Linked DNA regions of Homo sapiens: regions 1 and 2 are each linked to region 3. The links are contacts of gene promoters, found by promoter capture Hi-C in human tissues and cell types (Jung and others, 2019). All regions are on one chromosome and are shown on one strand. The core of a region is centred on a gene start or on the middle of the fragment in contact, and the rest is flanking DNA. Distances in the headings are between cores, read along the strand shown. Region 1 overlaps ANKRD11 (ankyrin repeat domain containing 11). Region 2 overlaps ANKRD11 (ankyrin repeat domain containing 11). Region 3 holds the start of RPL13 (ribosomal protein L13).

Region 1 (4,869 bases), core at 2,369-4,868, 97 kb after region 3:
GGGCTTTCATCTCCGGCCACTGACCTCCAGGGAAGGGAGCAGGAGCTGAAGATGGAGCTCTAAAAACTCTCGAACATGCCCGAGTTGCGGGAGGGCCCCTGCCGCCCACACTTGGCTCTTTGCATCTTTTGTTTGCTGCTACCGAGTTGTCTTTTTTATATTTTCCATGTCGAACATGTGGAATACAGTTCAACAGCTTTTAATGTCTTTGTCTACTAATTTTAACACCTGTTTCAATTCTATGTTGGTTTATTTCTTTTAACCTCATTATGGTTTGTATTTGTGTTTTTTTGAGCACTAATCGTCGTTTTCTGAGGCTTGTATTTTTTCCTTCTTTGCCTAGTGATTTTGTTGGATGCCAGGCATTAGGAATTTTACCCCGTTGGGTGATGACTTTCTTTTGAAAAATGAACGAGATCTGGTTCACAGAATACAAAATTTACCATTTACAGCTCACAGTTTAGTGATTTTTAGTATATTCATTATATTGTGCACCCATCACCACTGTCACATTCCAGCAAGTTTCCATCCTCATGCGGTCCCCTGTGTCATCAGTCCTTGTCCCCCTTCCCCCTTTCCCTGACAACTGGTACTCTCTTTTCTATCTCTCTGGATTTGCCTATTGTGAATGTTTCCCATAAATGAGAATTAAGTCTTTTGGGTTTTAGATAAATAAGATCATCATTTCTTCTTCAGAGAATTGAACTGTCAGCAGGTGGGGGCTCGTTGCTTGTAGGGGGTGGGCTGCATGCGCTCTGGTGTTTACCTGGTGTGCCTGAGCCCACGGCCAGTGCAGCAGGTTCTGCCAGCATCTTTTTCTGGGCAGCTTGTTGAGTTTATGACACAATCTCCTTTTACTGGTCCCTGTTGTGATTGGCACCCTGACCTTTTAGAAAGTGTGATGGTGGCCAGGCGCGGTGGCTCACGCCTGTAATTCCAGCACTTTGGGAGGCCGAGGCGGGCAGATCATGAGGTCAGGAGATCAAGACCATCCTGGCTAACACGGTGAAACCCCATCTCTACTAAAAATACAAAAAATTAGCCGGGCATGGTGGCGGGCGCCTGCAGTCCCAGCTACTCGGGAGGCTGAGGCAGGAGAATGGCGTGAACTCAGGAGGTGGAGCTTGCAGTTAGCTGAGATCGTGTCACTGCACTCCAGCCTGGGCGACAGAGCGAGACTCCGACTCCGTCTCAAAAAATAACAAAAACAAGAAAGTGTGATGGTGGCTGTGGAGCAGAGGAGTCTTCTTTAGCTCGTCCACGTGACGTGCAGGAGTACATGGGAGTCGTGTGCTGGTGGACACACAGAAGCGACTTTTTCCTTTGTCTCATGGTGGAATGCTGGAGGAGCAAGTGTTCCCACCTGCTGAGCAGCTGAAAGCAGGCTTTCCGCGGATGTGTGCGGGCGGGCGGTGTGGCACAGAAAGGCCTCGATGGACTGTCTGCTCTTCACGGCAAGAGTGTGCTGCCCCTGTTCTCTGTCGTGGCCTCTGCTGTAAAGATGAGAGAAGTCCAACGCCAGTCTAATTCATGATTCTTTTTTAGTTAAGCTTTTTAGGATTTTGTGGAAACTTGTAGGATTTTCTGTTGATATGTGGGAGTCTGACATTTTGCTATTTTTAGGGTTTAGATTGTGACTTTTTTATATTGGTTAGCATCTTGAAGCTCTTTTAATATGCAGACTTGTCTTTTTAACTCCATCTCAGTTTTTCTGTCAAGGGCCAGTTAGACCTTGTGGCCGCATGTTCTCTGACAGCTCTTCAGCTCTGCTGTTGTATCATGGAAGGAACCGGGGCCACACTTAAAACGAGCCTGGCTGTTTTCCAGTTACAACTATTACTAACACTGAAATTAGAATTTCATATAATTTTCACTTACCACAAAATGTTATTTTCTTTTTCAACCAGGTATAAATATAAACCTCATTCTTAGCCTGTGGACTGTCTAAAAAAGACATTGGGCCAGATTCGGCCCCTGACCCCCAGGTGGTTTCCCCATCATAGTAATCATAGTAGATGAACTTGGAACTGTGTAGCTTTATTGGTTTTTCATCCTTGAAGCTTGCTTTTCCTCTGCAGTGGTCCTGACTTTCTGTAGAGTTTGATCTCTGCGGCTTCTTCCTTCTGTAGAGTTTGGTCTCTGTTTTCTCTAAACTTAAGTTATTTGTCTGATTTCATTTACTTTCTGTTAATTTAGGTGCTTAATTCTGGTCAACTATTGACATGTCATTCTTCTGTTTTCCAGTGCTGTTACAGATTTATTCTTTTCTTTTTTTCTTTTTCTTTTCTTTTCTTTTTTTTTTTTTTTTAAGATGGAGTCTCACTCTGTCGCCCAGGCTGGAGTGCAGTGTTGCGATCTTGGCTCACTACAGCCTCCACCTCCCAGGTTCAAGCGATTCTCGTGCCTCAGCCTCCTGAGTAGCTGGGATTACAGGTGTCTGACCCCACGCCCAGCTAATTTTTTGTATTTTTAGTAGAGATGAGGTTTCACCATGTTGGCCTGGCTGGTCTTGAACTCCTGACCTCGTGATCTGCCTGCCTCGGCCTCCCAAAGTGCTGGGATTACAGGCGTGAGCCACCACGCTCTGCCAGATTTATTCTTTTCAAAATGTTTGTTACTTTAAGAAATTTTAGATAAGAGGGTTAGATTCCACCATTGTGATCTTTTTTTTTCTTTTGAGATGGAGTCTCGTTCTGTCACCCAGGCTGGAGTGCAGTGGTGCGATCTTCGCTCGCTACAGCCTCCACCTCCCAGGTTCAAGTGATTCTCGTGTCTCAGCCTCCCGAGTAGCTGGGACTACAGGCGCCCGCCACCATGCCTGATTAATTTTTGTATTTTTAGTAGAGACGGGGTTTCACCATGTTGGCCAGGCTGGTCTTTAACTCCTGACCTCAAGTGATCCGCCCACCTCACCCTCCCAAAATGTTGGGATTACAGGTGTGAACCACTGTGCCTGGCGTTAGCGTTGTGGTCTAATAGTACTACAGTACTATTGTTTTTTGTAAATAGAATTGCAGTCTGAACAGGAAGAACTTCCACCATAGGTGTTTTGAAGAAGTTAATTTTTTGCATAAGTAGAAAGCCATGGGAGCATTAAACTTAACAGTCTATTGCTTGTGTGGTAACGTAGGGAATTAATTTTGAATTAAATGTGAACTAGACAATTTGCTGTGGAATACTACGTTGAAATTATTGAAAAACACTTATCCAGTGTGAGGCTTTTTTTTTTTTTAATTTATTTATTTTTTATTGATAATTCTTGGGTGTTTCTCATAGAGGGGGATTTGGCAGGGTCATAGGACAATAGTGGAGGGAAGGTCAGCAAATAAACAAGTGAACAAAGGTCTCTGGTTTTCCTAGGCAGAGGACCCTGCGGCCTTCCGCAGTGTTTGTGTCCCTGGGTACTTGAGATTAGGGAGTGGTGATGACTCTTAACGAGTATGCTGCCTTCAACCGTCTGTTTAACAAAGCACATCTTGCACCGCCCTTAATCCATTTAACCCTGAGTGGACACAGCACATGTTTCAGAGAGCACAGGGTTGGGGGCAAGGTCACAGATCAACAGGATCCCAAGGCAGAAGTTTTCTTAGTACAGAACAAAATGAAAAGTCTCCCATGTCTACTTCTTTCTACACAGACACGGCAACCATCCGATTTCTCAATCTTTTCCCCACCTTTCCCCGCTTTCTATTCCACAAAACCGCCACTGTCATCATGGCCCGTTCTCAATGAGCTGTTGGGCACACCTCCCAGACGGGGTGGTGGCCGGGCAGAGGGGCTCCTCACTTCCCAGTAGGGGCGGCCGGGCAGAGGCGCCCCTCACCTCCCGGGCGGGGCGGCTGGCCGGGCGGGGGGGCTGACCCCCCCACCTCCCTCCCGGATGGGGCGGCTGGCCTGGCGGGGGGCTGACCCCCCCACCTCCCTCCCGGACGGGGCGGCTGGCCTGGCGGGGGGGCTGACCCCCCCCACCTCCACCTCCCTCCCGGACGGGGCAGCTGGGCGGGGGGCTGACCCCCTCACCTCCCTCCCGGATGGGGCGGCTGCTGGGCGGAGACGCTCCTCACTTCCCAGACGGGGTGGCTGCCGGGCGGAGGGGCTCCTCACTTCTCAGACGGGGTGGTTGCCGGGCAGAGGGTCTTCTCACTTGTCAGACGGGGTGGCCGGGCAGAGGTGCTCCTCACATCCCAGACGGGGCGGCGGGGCAGAGGCGCTCCCCACATCTCAGACGATGGGCGGCCGGGCAGAGACGCTCCTCACTTCCTAGATGTGATGGCGGCCGGGAAGAGGTGCTCCTCACTTCCTAAGTGGGATGGCGGCTGGGCGGAGACGCTCCTCACTTTCCAGACTGGGCAGCCAGGCAGAGGGGCTCCTCACATCCCAGATGATGGGCGGCCAGGCAGAGACGCTCCTCACTTCCCAGACGGGGTGGCGGCCGGGCAGAGGTTGCAGTCTCGGCACTTTGGGAGGCCAAGGCAGGCGGCTGGGAGGTGGAGGTTGTAGCGAGCCGAGATCATGCCACTGCACTCCAGCCTGGGCACCATTGAGCACTGAGTGAACGAGACTCCGTCTGCAATCCCGGCACCTCGGGAGGCCGAGGCTGGCGGATCACTTGCGGTTAGGGGCTGGAGACCGGCCTGGCCAACACAGCGAAACCCCGTCTCCACCAAAACCAGTCAGGCGTGGCGGCGTGAGCCTGCAATCGCAGGCACTCGGCAGGCTGAGTCAGGAGAATCAGGCAGGGGGGTTGCAGTGAGCCGAGATGGCAGCAGTACAGTCCAGCTTCGACTCAGCATGAGAGGGAGACCGTGGAAAGAGAGGGAGAGGGAGACCATGGGGAGAGGGAGAGGGAGAGAGGGAGAGGGAGAGGGG
Region 2 (4,971 bases), core at 574-3,073, 120 kb after region 3:
TTTCTAGACCGGATTTGAGTTGTTTGAACGGAGGTCTGGTGGCTTTGGGAAAGGTCTTTGCATGGATGATGGGGGAAGGTGCCTTTTTGGTGAGTGCCATAGTCGGCTGCCACCTTGCCATCCAGAGAGATTCCTGCTTGTGGACACTGTTCAGTTATGCAGGGTATGTTTAATTTTTTAAGAGTCAGGTTTGCGTTTTTTTTTTTTTTTTTTTTTTTTTTGTAGGCGGAGTCTCGCTCTGTTGCCCAGGCTGGAGTGCAGTGGCACGATCTTGGCTCACTGCATAGTCCGCCTCCTGGGTTCATGCCATTCTCCTGCCTCAGCCTCCCGAGTAGCTGGGACTGCAGGTGCCCACCACCACACCCAGCTAATTTTTTGTATTTTTAGTAGAGGTGGGGTTTTACCATGTTAGCCAGGATGGTCTCCATCTGCTGACCTCGTGATCCGCCCGCCTTGGCCTCCCAAAGTGCTGGGATTACAGGCGTGAGCCACCGCGCCCGGCCAGGTTTGCGTATTTTTTAATAATTCTTTTTCTGAAGTTTTTTTCCTGACTGCTTTTGTTGCTGGGTGATGGAATATATTCTGACATTGGATGTGCAAGATCTTAAAAAAGTCTGTGTAATAGAGTCTGTGTAAGAGAGCCTGTGTTGAGAAGTTCTGTAGTCTCTTCAGAATGAAAATTCATTTAAATATTTTAGGACTTCACTCCAGAGGGTTTTAGCGCATGCATAGCGAGGAAACTTTTTTTTTTTTGAGACGGAGTCTCACTTTGTGGCCCAGGCTGGAGTGCAGTGGCTCGATCCTGGCTCACTGCGATCTCTGCCTCTCAGGTTCACGCCATTTTCCTGCCTCAGCCTCCCGAGTAGCTGGGACTACAGGCGCCCACCACCACGCCCGGCTAATTTTTGTATTTTTAGTAGAGACAGGGTTTCACGGTGTTAGCCAGGATGGTCTCGATCTCCTGACCTCATGATCTGCCCGCCTCGGCCTCCCAAAGTGCTGGGATTACAGGCGTGAGCCACTGTGTCTGGCCGCAAGGAAACTTATTTTTTATAAACCACGATGCGCTCTCTCTTTCCGTTTTGACTGTGACACACACCAGCCACACCAGGATTCATGCGCACTCACACGCATTGCCACACAGCCACAGATGTTCCTGTTGATGCCACATGGATTTATTTTCAGTCCCGGCAGGCTTGGAGGCAGGTGGCCCCCTTTCTGTAGCCCCTTGCTGGGTGGTGCCTGGATGTCCTCTGGCTTCTCCAGGGCTCTGCCCACGTTGCTGTGAGTTGGATTTTTTGGGGCCCTTAGTTTGTGCTTGATATTTTCTTATGCTTTCTTCCTTTCCCTCTTACCTCCTCCTCCCCCTCCTTTTGAGACAGAGTTTTGTCGTGTCATCCAGGTTGGAGTGCATTGGTACTCACAGCTCACTGTAGTGTTGACCTCCTGGTCTCAAGCAATTCTCCCACCTCAGCCTCCTGAGTGCCTGGGACTACAGGTGCACACCTCCATGCCCAGCTAAGTTTTTATTCTGTTTTTATTGTTACAAAGTTGAGGTTTCAGTGTGTTGCTCAGGCTGGTCTGAACTTCTGGCCTCATGTGATCCTCCCCCCTCAGCCTTCCAGAGTTCTGGGATTACAGGCCTGAGCCACCACGCTGGACCGAGACATTTTCTGGTGGTCTGCTTTTCCTAGTTCCACTGTTATTTATCCCTCCCCCCAGGGGAACATGTACATTTTACGTGAACATATTGATAAAATGTTCATTTCTAATTACAGCACACTGAATTCTTCCGGAGGAAGAATCCTGTGAACCCTGCCATTGTCCCCTTGAGGACTGGAGAAGTAGGAAGAGGCAGGGAAATGGTTGCGGGTGAGCACTGGGCTAGAGGTTCTGTGTTTTAGACCTCAGTCCTGAAAGGCTGTGATCTCCTCTGAGTCTCTGATTCTTTGTCAGCTTCCTCATAAGAGCCAAGTCACAGATTATGGAGTTAAGGTAGTGGGCTGCGGCTCAGACCCCACACCTGTGAGAGACACAGGCCTCTCCTGCTGTGGGTGTGTGCAGTAGAGCTGGAGTCTTTGACTTCTCCGGAGGCCGCCCATCAGTCTAGGTCAGCTGCACTGTGGGTAGTGTTAGAGTTGAGCTTACAGCTGGCTCTGTTGGTGATCATTGGGAATGAAAACGTTCCACAGAGTTCTGAGGGGGACGGAGTTGTGTTGAGAACACCTTTGGTGTTGTGTGTCAGTGGTGTAGATGAAGAATAGATCTGAGGTGGATGGAGGTGTGCTGAGAACACCTTTGGTGTTGTGTGTGAGTGGTGTAGATGAAGAATAGAACAAGCTTTTCTTTGCTGATTGTGTGGTTGTATTCACAGCCTCAATTGCTGAGGCGCTGTGGTGTGTTTCAGCTTTATCCTAAATATCACATTGCATTTTAGATGGGTTTTCTCACCCATATCCCTGGATCACTGTTTTACATGGAGAACTTTGACACTTGTTTTTTCTTTGGTGTAGTTTTTAGCACTGAAAGTGTATACAGATAGTCCCTGACTTAATGATGGTTCGACTTAGGATTTTTGACTTTACACTGGGTTTATTGGGAGGTAACCCCATTGCAAGTCAAGGAACATTTTATCTCCTTAAAAGTAAAATCATTAATTTAGTGTTGTCTGCTTTTAAATTTTTACATATTCAGAGGTCCTATATATTTGTGCTTAGGATTCAGTTGTCTATACTGGAAAACAGCATTTTCCAAAAAAGTTTTCAGTTTACTGAAAACAGTGGGACTTCCTTGAACCTTCAGTGCTGCGGGTAGGAAAGAAGACTCTGGGACTGTGCATGCATGTGGATTTGAACAACGTGCCACACAGAGGGAGTTTCCCATTGTGATGTTTATCTTCTATATGAATGGAAGAATACAGTTCTTTTTTTTTTTTGGTTTTGTTTTTTTTAAGAGAAAGGTTAAAATTTTTGTTTGTTTTTGTTTCTGTTTTTGTTTGAGGCAGGGTCTTGCTCTGTCGTTCAGGCTGGAGTGCAGTGGTATGATCACGAACTCATTGGCTCAAGCAGTCTCCCATCTCAGCCTCTCCAGCAGCTGGGATCACAGGCATGCAACCCCACACCTGGCTAGTTTATTTTAAAATTTTTTATAGAGATGCGGTCTCACATGTTGCTCTGGTTGGCCTTGAACTTCTGGGATCAAGCAGTCCTCCCACCTCGGCCTCCTAAATGCAGTAACATTTGATGACTTGAGATTTGAATACTTTAGCTTCGAAGGGACTGTGCTTGGTTCTTGGGGGCAATGCCTTCCAAACTGTCCATCATGACCCAGTATGTCTTTTTTTAGAAAATTTTCTTGGATGGGCACGGTGGCTCATACCTGTAATCCCAGCACTTTGGGAGGCCCAGGTGGGTGGATCACCTGAAGTCATAAGTTCAAGACCAGCCTGGCCCAACCTAGTGAAACCCTGTATCTACTAAAAATACGCACACACACACACAAATTAGCTGGATGTGGTAGCACACGCCAGTAGTCCCAGCTACTCGGGTGGGTGAGACAGGAGAATTGCTTGAACCCAGGAGGCGGAGGCTGCAGTGAGCTGAGATCGCACCACTGCACTCCAGCCTGGGCAACAGAGTGAGACTCTGTGTTGAAAAAAAAAAAATGTTCCCTATCCCAAGGCCATAAAGATAGCTTCCTACGCCTTCTGCACATTTTGTACTTTTGCCCTTTGCATTTATACCTTTAATGTATCCTAAATTGATGTTTGTGTATGGTGTGAGATAAGAAGCCAGCTGTTCCTAGTCTTCATGCAGACACCAGTTGTGCCAGCCTCCTGGGCTGCGCACGCGGTTCGTGGACCCATCTCCAGTGCCCCTGCTGTGTCCAAGCTTGCGGTGCCCTCCTGGCCAGCGGGCTCTCCTTGGGACACTGCCACTTGCCTTCATGGTGGACTCTGCCTGGTGTTGGTGTCTAGAAATACAATGGACTTGTGTATATTCATCTTATATTTTGTATCCAGGAATTTTTCTTTCTACAGATGAGGAAACTAAGAATGATTTTAACCATGGCTGCCCAACTCCACAGCCCCCGGGCCTAGTTTGCATTATGCATTGCCCTGCACTGACCCATAGGAGATTGAACTGGGCATAGCGTCGAGGTGCCCTGGAGGGTGGGTTGCTGGAGCTGGGAGTGGCATTAGGAGTAGTGGAGAGGCATGGCGGAGGAGCGGATGCATGGGAGGTGCAGAGGCCAGTGAGAAATGAGAGTGGCCAGGGCACCACAGCCTCCCTACCAGACAGGAAGAGCCGGAGAGAGCTGGTCTGAGGGACAGCGTCTCTAGCCTTGAATCCATGGCTTTCATAAACCCCTTGGACATCTGGTGAGTGGGCTCTTGGGAGAGATGTCAGGTTGGAGAGAGCTCTGGAGGACTGTCTCTGGAGGACTGTTTGCTCAGGGGAGATGGTGGCATGCTGGGAAGTGAGGGGCTGCTCAGTGAGAGAGTGGGAGGCACAGAAGAGCAGAAAGAAGAAGAGGTGAATGAGGAGAGAGGAAGTAGGGGTGTGGAGGAGTCAGTGGGAGGCGGGAAGAGCCAGCCTGTTTGCTGCACTGGTTTGGGAACATTAGAGTGAAGAAAACAGATGTTGGGGCAAACAATACAGTCTTTCACTTTTTGGTATTTTTTTGGTGGCTTTTTAAAAAATTCTCTGTCATATTAGCATATTAGCATCATGCTTGGTTCATGGAATGAGAGGCCACTGTTGTTGGCCCTCTTCATAAGTGGACGTTCCTTCTCCATTTCCAGGTTAGAAGGTGTGTGCTGCGCTTTCAGTGATGGATCTGTTCGCTTCGTTCCCTTCCCTGTTGTGAAAATGGTCACACACAGGCTGATGCCGTTTGGGTGTGTGTTGTCGTTTTCTTCTGTGACATCTCCTTCCTCGTATGTCACTTTTTAGGATATTGGGGACAAAT
Region 3 (4,822 bases), core at 1-2,500:
GTCCATTAAGGTTATCTCTGCGGAAACGCACAGGTGAACCTTAGCAGTCCCGCTTAGCTCATCACCCACAATGTTTTGGTTCTTCTCACCCCAGCAAGACCCAGGGACCGGTGTCACTGATAAAGGAGCCAAGCCTCACTGTCCCCGCGCACCAGGACGGCCAGAGAGCCGTGTACTCACAGAACTGTCTCCCTTCTTGGGGGCCGAGGGCTTCCTGGGGAAGAGGATGAGTTTGGAGCGGTACTCCTTCAGCCGCTGCACGTTGGCCTGCAGGGACTCCGTGGACTTGTTCCGCCTCCTCGGATCCACAGAAATGCCGATGGTCCGGGCCACCTTCTTGTGAATGCCGGCCACCTGCCCCAGAACCAGAGAGAGATGGAGACAGGCCCGGGCTTTCTCCAGCCCCGAGGCCTGGATGAAAAGCCTCAGCAATCAGATGGAAAAGGGTTCAAATGTGCTTTCATCAAGGCCGTACAGCGATTCCGGAGAATGTCATCACGCGACTGAGGCCAACAGAGGGGACTTCGGGGCCTTCCTGACACCGCAGCGCTGCCAGTACTCACCCTGAGCTCCTCCAGGCTGAAGCCGCGGCCGGCGCGCACCTTCGTGTGGTACCGAACCGTGGGGCAGCGCACGATGGGCCGGATGGGACCCGACGCGGGGCGCGGGGCGATGCGGCGCGCCTTGGCTTGCCGGGCCTTACGTCTGGTGGAGAGAAGCGCAGCGGCGGTCACCCTTGCCTAAGGCCGCCAGGCCAGCGCTCCGCGACGGTTGCAGACAGCGCCCCCCGCCCTGGCATCGGCCACCCGCAAGCCAAGGCGCAGCCGCGGGCACGAGCCCCAGGGGCAGCCCCGAGCGCAGGGCTCACCTGCGGATCTTACGGGCCGGCTGGTTGAACCACGTGGCCACGCGCCGCTGCCAGTCCTTGTGGAAGTGGGGCTTCAAGACCATGCCATTCCGGCTGGGCGCCATGGCTGCCTACGGCCCTGCGGCTGCGGACGAGAGGGGAGCGAGTGAGAGGCCGGACCCCGGGCGCGCGCACCCCCCCGGGCCTCCGCCCCGAACCCTCCAGACTGGGCCGTCCGGCCGCGCCTAGAGCCCGGGCAGCGGCCGAACGCTGTCTGCGAAGAAGAAGGGGCCCATCCACTCCCGCGTTGGCTGAAGCGCCAGGCCGATGGCGCTGGATGATGCCCAAAGGCCAGGACCCAGTCTCCCTCACCTCCTGCGCAGGAAAACAGCCGAGCGGAAAGGAAGCGGCCCCGCAATGCACTCTGGGATGATAGCAGGGCCGGCCAACCAGAAGCGCCGGGCGCTCTGACCAATCAGAGCCCCGAAAGGAGGAACTGACGTCGCCGCGGCTCTCCCGGCAGCCCTAGGGCCGCCGTCGCAGACATGTTGCCGCTGAGAATGCGGCGGGGCGGCCGTGATTCCTGGGCCCTGAGTAACCGACGGCCGGACTTGCTTGACGTCCGCCGTTACTGCCCCGGCGCTTCAGCCGCTGCGCGGGCCGCGGCCGAGTCCTGTCTTGCGGGCTAACGCGCGCGAGTCCGGTATCTGGGCCGACGGCGAACGGGCGACGCCCGAGGAATTCTGTTTGTTCACATTTGTGAGACACGTTTGCAGCGCAAAGGCAGAAAAACTTCAGTGACATCCGAGTTTGCGCAACCTAAGGCCTTCGTCCTTGTCGTTCCAGCGTTTATTCTCCTCCCATCCATTTAGAACATTTGTGGTTTTTTTTTTTGTTTTTTTTTTTTGGAGACGGAGTCTCGCTCCGTCGCCCAGGCTGGAGTGCAATGGCGCGATCTCGGCTCACTGCAGCCTCCGCGTCCCAGGTTCAAGCAATTCTGCCTCAGCCTCCCGAGTAGCTGGGATTACAGGCGCCCGCCGCCACACCCTGCTAATTTTTGGTATTTTAGTAGACGGAGTTACTGTTGGCCTCTGTCGCTTTCCCTTGGCCCAGGATTAGGTGACTTCTCTAAGGTCAGGGGTACCCGACTGAAAATGTCACACTCTGACCTGCTGTGCCTACTGCCTTCCTTCACAAAGAAAAGCATCAACAAAAAGCCATCTCTTCTCTAGTATAAGTCTGTGAAGGCACCATCCATCTTACTGCTACCTGGAAACCTTTAAATCCCAATAACCCTCTTTCTTCCCTACCCTCACCCAATCACCACGCTTCCTCCTGGTAAAACTTATTATTATTTTTTTTTTTTGAGACGGAGTCTCCCTCTGTTGCCCAGGCTGGAGTTCAGTGGTGCGATCTCTGTTCACTGCAAGTTCTGCCTCCCGGGTTCACGCCATTCTCCTGCCTCTGCCTCCCAAGTAGCTGGGACTACAGGCGCCCACCATCACGCCCAGCTGATTTTTTGTATTTTTAGTACAGACGGGGTTTCACTGTGTTAGCCAGGATGGTCTCGATCTCCTGACCTCGCGATCCGCCCGCCTGGGCCTCCCAAAGTGCTGGGATTACAGGCGTGAGCCACCGTGCCTGGCCAACGTAATCCACATTTTAAGAATTTCACAGTTCCAGCACTTTGGGAGGCTGAGGTGGGCGGATCAGCCGAGGTCAAGAGTTTGAGATCACCCTGGCTAAGATGGTGAAACCCTGTCTCTACTAAAAATACAAAAAAGCTGGGCGTGGTGGCGCATGCCTGTAATCCTAGCTACTTAGGAGGCTGAGTCACCAGAATTGCTTGAACTGGGGAGGCAGAGGTTGCAGTGAGCCAAGATCACATTACTGCACTCTAGCCTGGGCAACAGAGCAAGACTCAGTCTCAAAAAGAAAAAAAAGTATTTCACAGGCCAGGCACGGTGGCTCATGCCTGTAAATCCCAGCACTTTGGGAGGCCGAGGCGGGTGGATCACCTGAGGTCAGGAGTTGGAGACCGGCCTAGCCAACATGGCAAAATCCCGCCTCTACTAAAAATACAAAAATTAGCCATGTGTGGTTGTGTACACCTGTAATCCTAGCTACTCCAGAGAGTAGGACAGGGGAATCACTTGAACCCAGGAGGCAGAGGTTACAGTGAGTCGAGACTGCACCACTGCACTCCAGCCTGGGTGACAGAGTTAAGCCTCCGTCTCAAAAATGAAAAATTTAAGAGCTGGGCGTGCTGGCTCACACCTGTAATCCCAGCATTTTGGGAGCCCAAGGCAGGCAGATCACGAGGTCAGGAGATCGAGACCATCCTGGCTAACATGGTGAAACCCCGACTCTACTAAAAATACAAAAAATTAGCCGGGCGTGGTGGCAGGCGCCTGTGGTCCCACCTACTTGGGAGGCTGAGGCAGGAGAATGGCGTGAACCCGGGAGGCGGAGGTTGCACTGACCCAAGATCGTGCCACTGCACTCCAGCCTGGACTACAGAGCAAGATTCCATCTCCAAAAACAAATAATAATTAAAAAATAATAAATTAATTTCACAAAAGGCTTGGCACAGTGGCTCACACCTGTAATCCCAACACATTGGGAGGCCAAGGCAGGAGGATCACTTGAACTCAGAAATTCGAGTCTAGCCCTGTCTCTACAAAAAGTACAAAAATTAGTCGGGCATAATGGTGCGTGCCTGCGGTCCCAGCTACTTGGGAGGCTGAGTCAGGAGGATTGCTTGAGCCCAGAAGATCGAGGCTGCAGTGAGCCGAGATGGCGCCACTGCACTCTAGCCTGGGCGACAGAGCAAGACTCTGCCAAAAACCAACACAACAGCAAAAAAAAAACAATTACCGAGGACACTACCCTTGGCTACACCAGCTAAAACCCTCCCATCGATGTGCTGGTCTTTGGATTTGGAGAACTGGGGCAAAGGTCAAGGCATCTCTCAGAGATGCCACCCTCGGGTGTGTGACTGCACCTGTGGCTGCCTCCTTACTGCTCCGCCAGCGTTTCAGTGTTGCAGCAACAAGAGGACAATCCACTCACGTCACTGCACCACAGGGAGGGCAGAAGCAAGGGGGCCGGAGTGGGAGCCGCATGCCCCGGAACTCAGGGCCAGGGTGTCCTGGGTCGTCTTCTATCCCTACGGGGTCCAGGCCCCAGATTCCTACAGAAGGAGTTTTTCACTTAGTCCCTGCATTACTCAAATTATAAACTGAAACCACAAGACCCTGTGATCCAGGGCAAGCCCACCAGCTCCTCTGCATTAGAGCTGGCCAGACAATGCAAATGTAGATTTTCCAACTACACAGTTTATTAGTAAAGTATCTCAACAATTCTCAGAGCAGTAAAAACCAAGGCATCCCCAACACTGCATGCGTGACTAGACCAGCAAGAAGTCCTCAACTTGCACCAGTCCACATGGCAGCAGGGGGCAGTGGTGAGTCCTCCGGAGCCCAGTGCCTGGGCCTGACTGGCCCCATTGATGAGTGAGCTGGATGACAGGGCCGCTGGAGATAGGACAATCGGCTCACAGGGTCCTTTCATGTCCGATCCCCTTAGCATTCCGAGGGAGCCACAGGAACTGGGGCGGTCGTGCAAGCGTCGGCATGAACAGGGGTCTGTTTGGAGTCTGAATGCTCTGCTGCCTCTGGGTGGCCTCAGCCACACTGGGAACGACTGTCTATAACCCTGGGAACTCGAAGTGTTCCATGCTCACTCGGGAAGCACTGATAACCTTCCCCATAGGGGAAACGACTCACAAACACAGGACTCCGTCAGTAGTTTCTGCAGAGAAACTTAAAATCATGAAAAGGGTCATCAATCAACAGATCTCAGAAGTCACTGTGCAGGGACTACTGAGGGCCGCGAGAGGAAGTGCAAACCTCAGCTGAAAAGCAACTCAGGGTGGCTGAGTGAGCCCTCACTTCCCGGACCACCCGCACGTGC

The links. The method cuts DNA at HindIII sites, captures the fragments that hold promoters and counts their contacts. A contact is called where the count stands out against the background at its distance.
Region 1: a fragment that was not itself captured here is called in contact with the fragment with the promoter of RPL13 in region 3 in 2 of the 25 tissues and cell types used here (hippocampus and stomach).
Region 2: a fragment that was not itself captured here is called in contact with the fragment with the promoter of RPL13 in region 3 in 6 of the 25 tissues and cell types used here (bladder, dorsolateral prefrontal cortex, hippocampus and 3 more).

What each region holds. Positions count from the first base shown.
Region 1 is chr16:89,462,047-89,466,915 of GRCh38, reverse strand. The region is part of intron 1 of ANKRD11 (ankyrin repeat domain containing 11); the gene reads left to right. Among named protein-coding and RNA genes, the nearest start is that of ANKRD11, 26 kb to the left of the region's middle. RefSeq lists an enhancer at 3,153-4,141. The HindIII fragment of the contact is 3,625 bases long and covers 1,806-4,869 here.
Region 2 is chr16:89,437,018-89,441,988 of GRCh38, reverse strand. All of the region lies in intron 1 of ANKRD11 (ankyrin repeat domain containing 11), which reads left to right. The region is part of intron 1 of LOC101927817 (a long non-coding RNA gene); the gene reads right to left. Among named protein-coding and RNA genes, the nearest start is that of ANKRD11, 51 kb to the left of the region's middle. The HindIII fragment of the contact is 5,376 bases long and covers 1-4,511 here.
Region 3 is chr16:89,557,110-89,561,931 of GRCh38, reverse strand. RPL13 (ribosomal protein L13) reads right to left here and starts at 1,250. Exons shown (of 6, transcript NM_000977.4): 1 at 1,220-1,250; 2 at 869-992; 3 at 564-705; 4 at 181-354. The coding sequence starts at 972. It overlaps SNORD68 (small nucleolar RNA, C/D box 68), which reads right to left and starts at 502; the gene lies at 431-502. SPG7 (SPG7 matrix AAA peptidase subunit, paraplegin) reads right to left here. Exons shown (of 17, transcript NM_003119.4): 17 at 4,166-4,822. RefSeq lists silencers at 668-717, 778-1,047, 2,589-2,808 and an enhancer at 1,158-1,267. The HindIII fragment of the contact is 11,945 bases long and covers 1-4,822 here.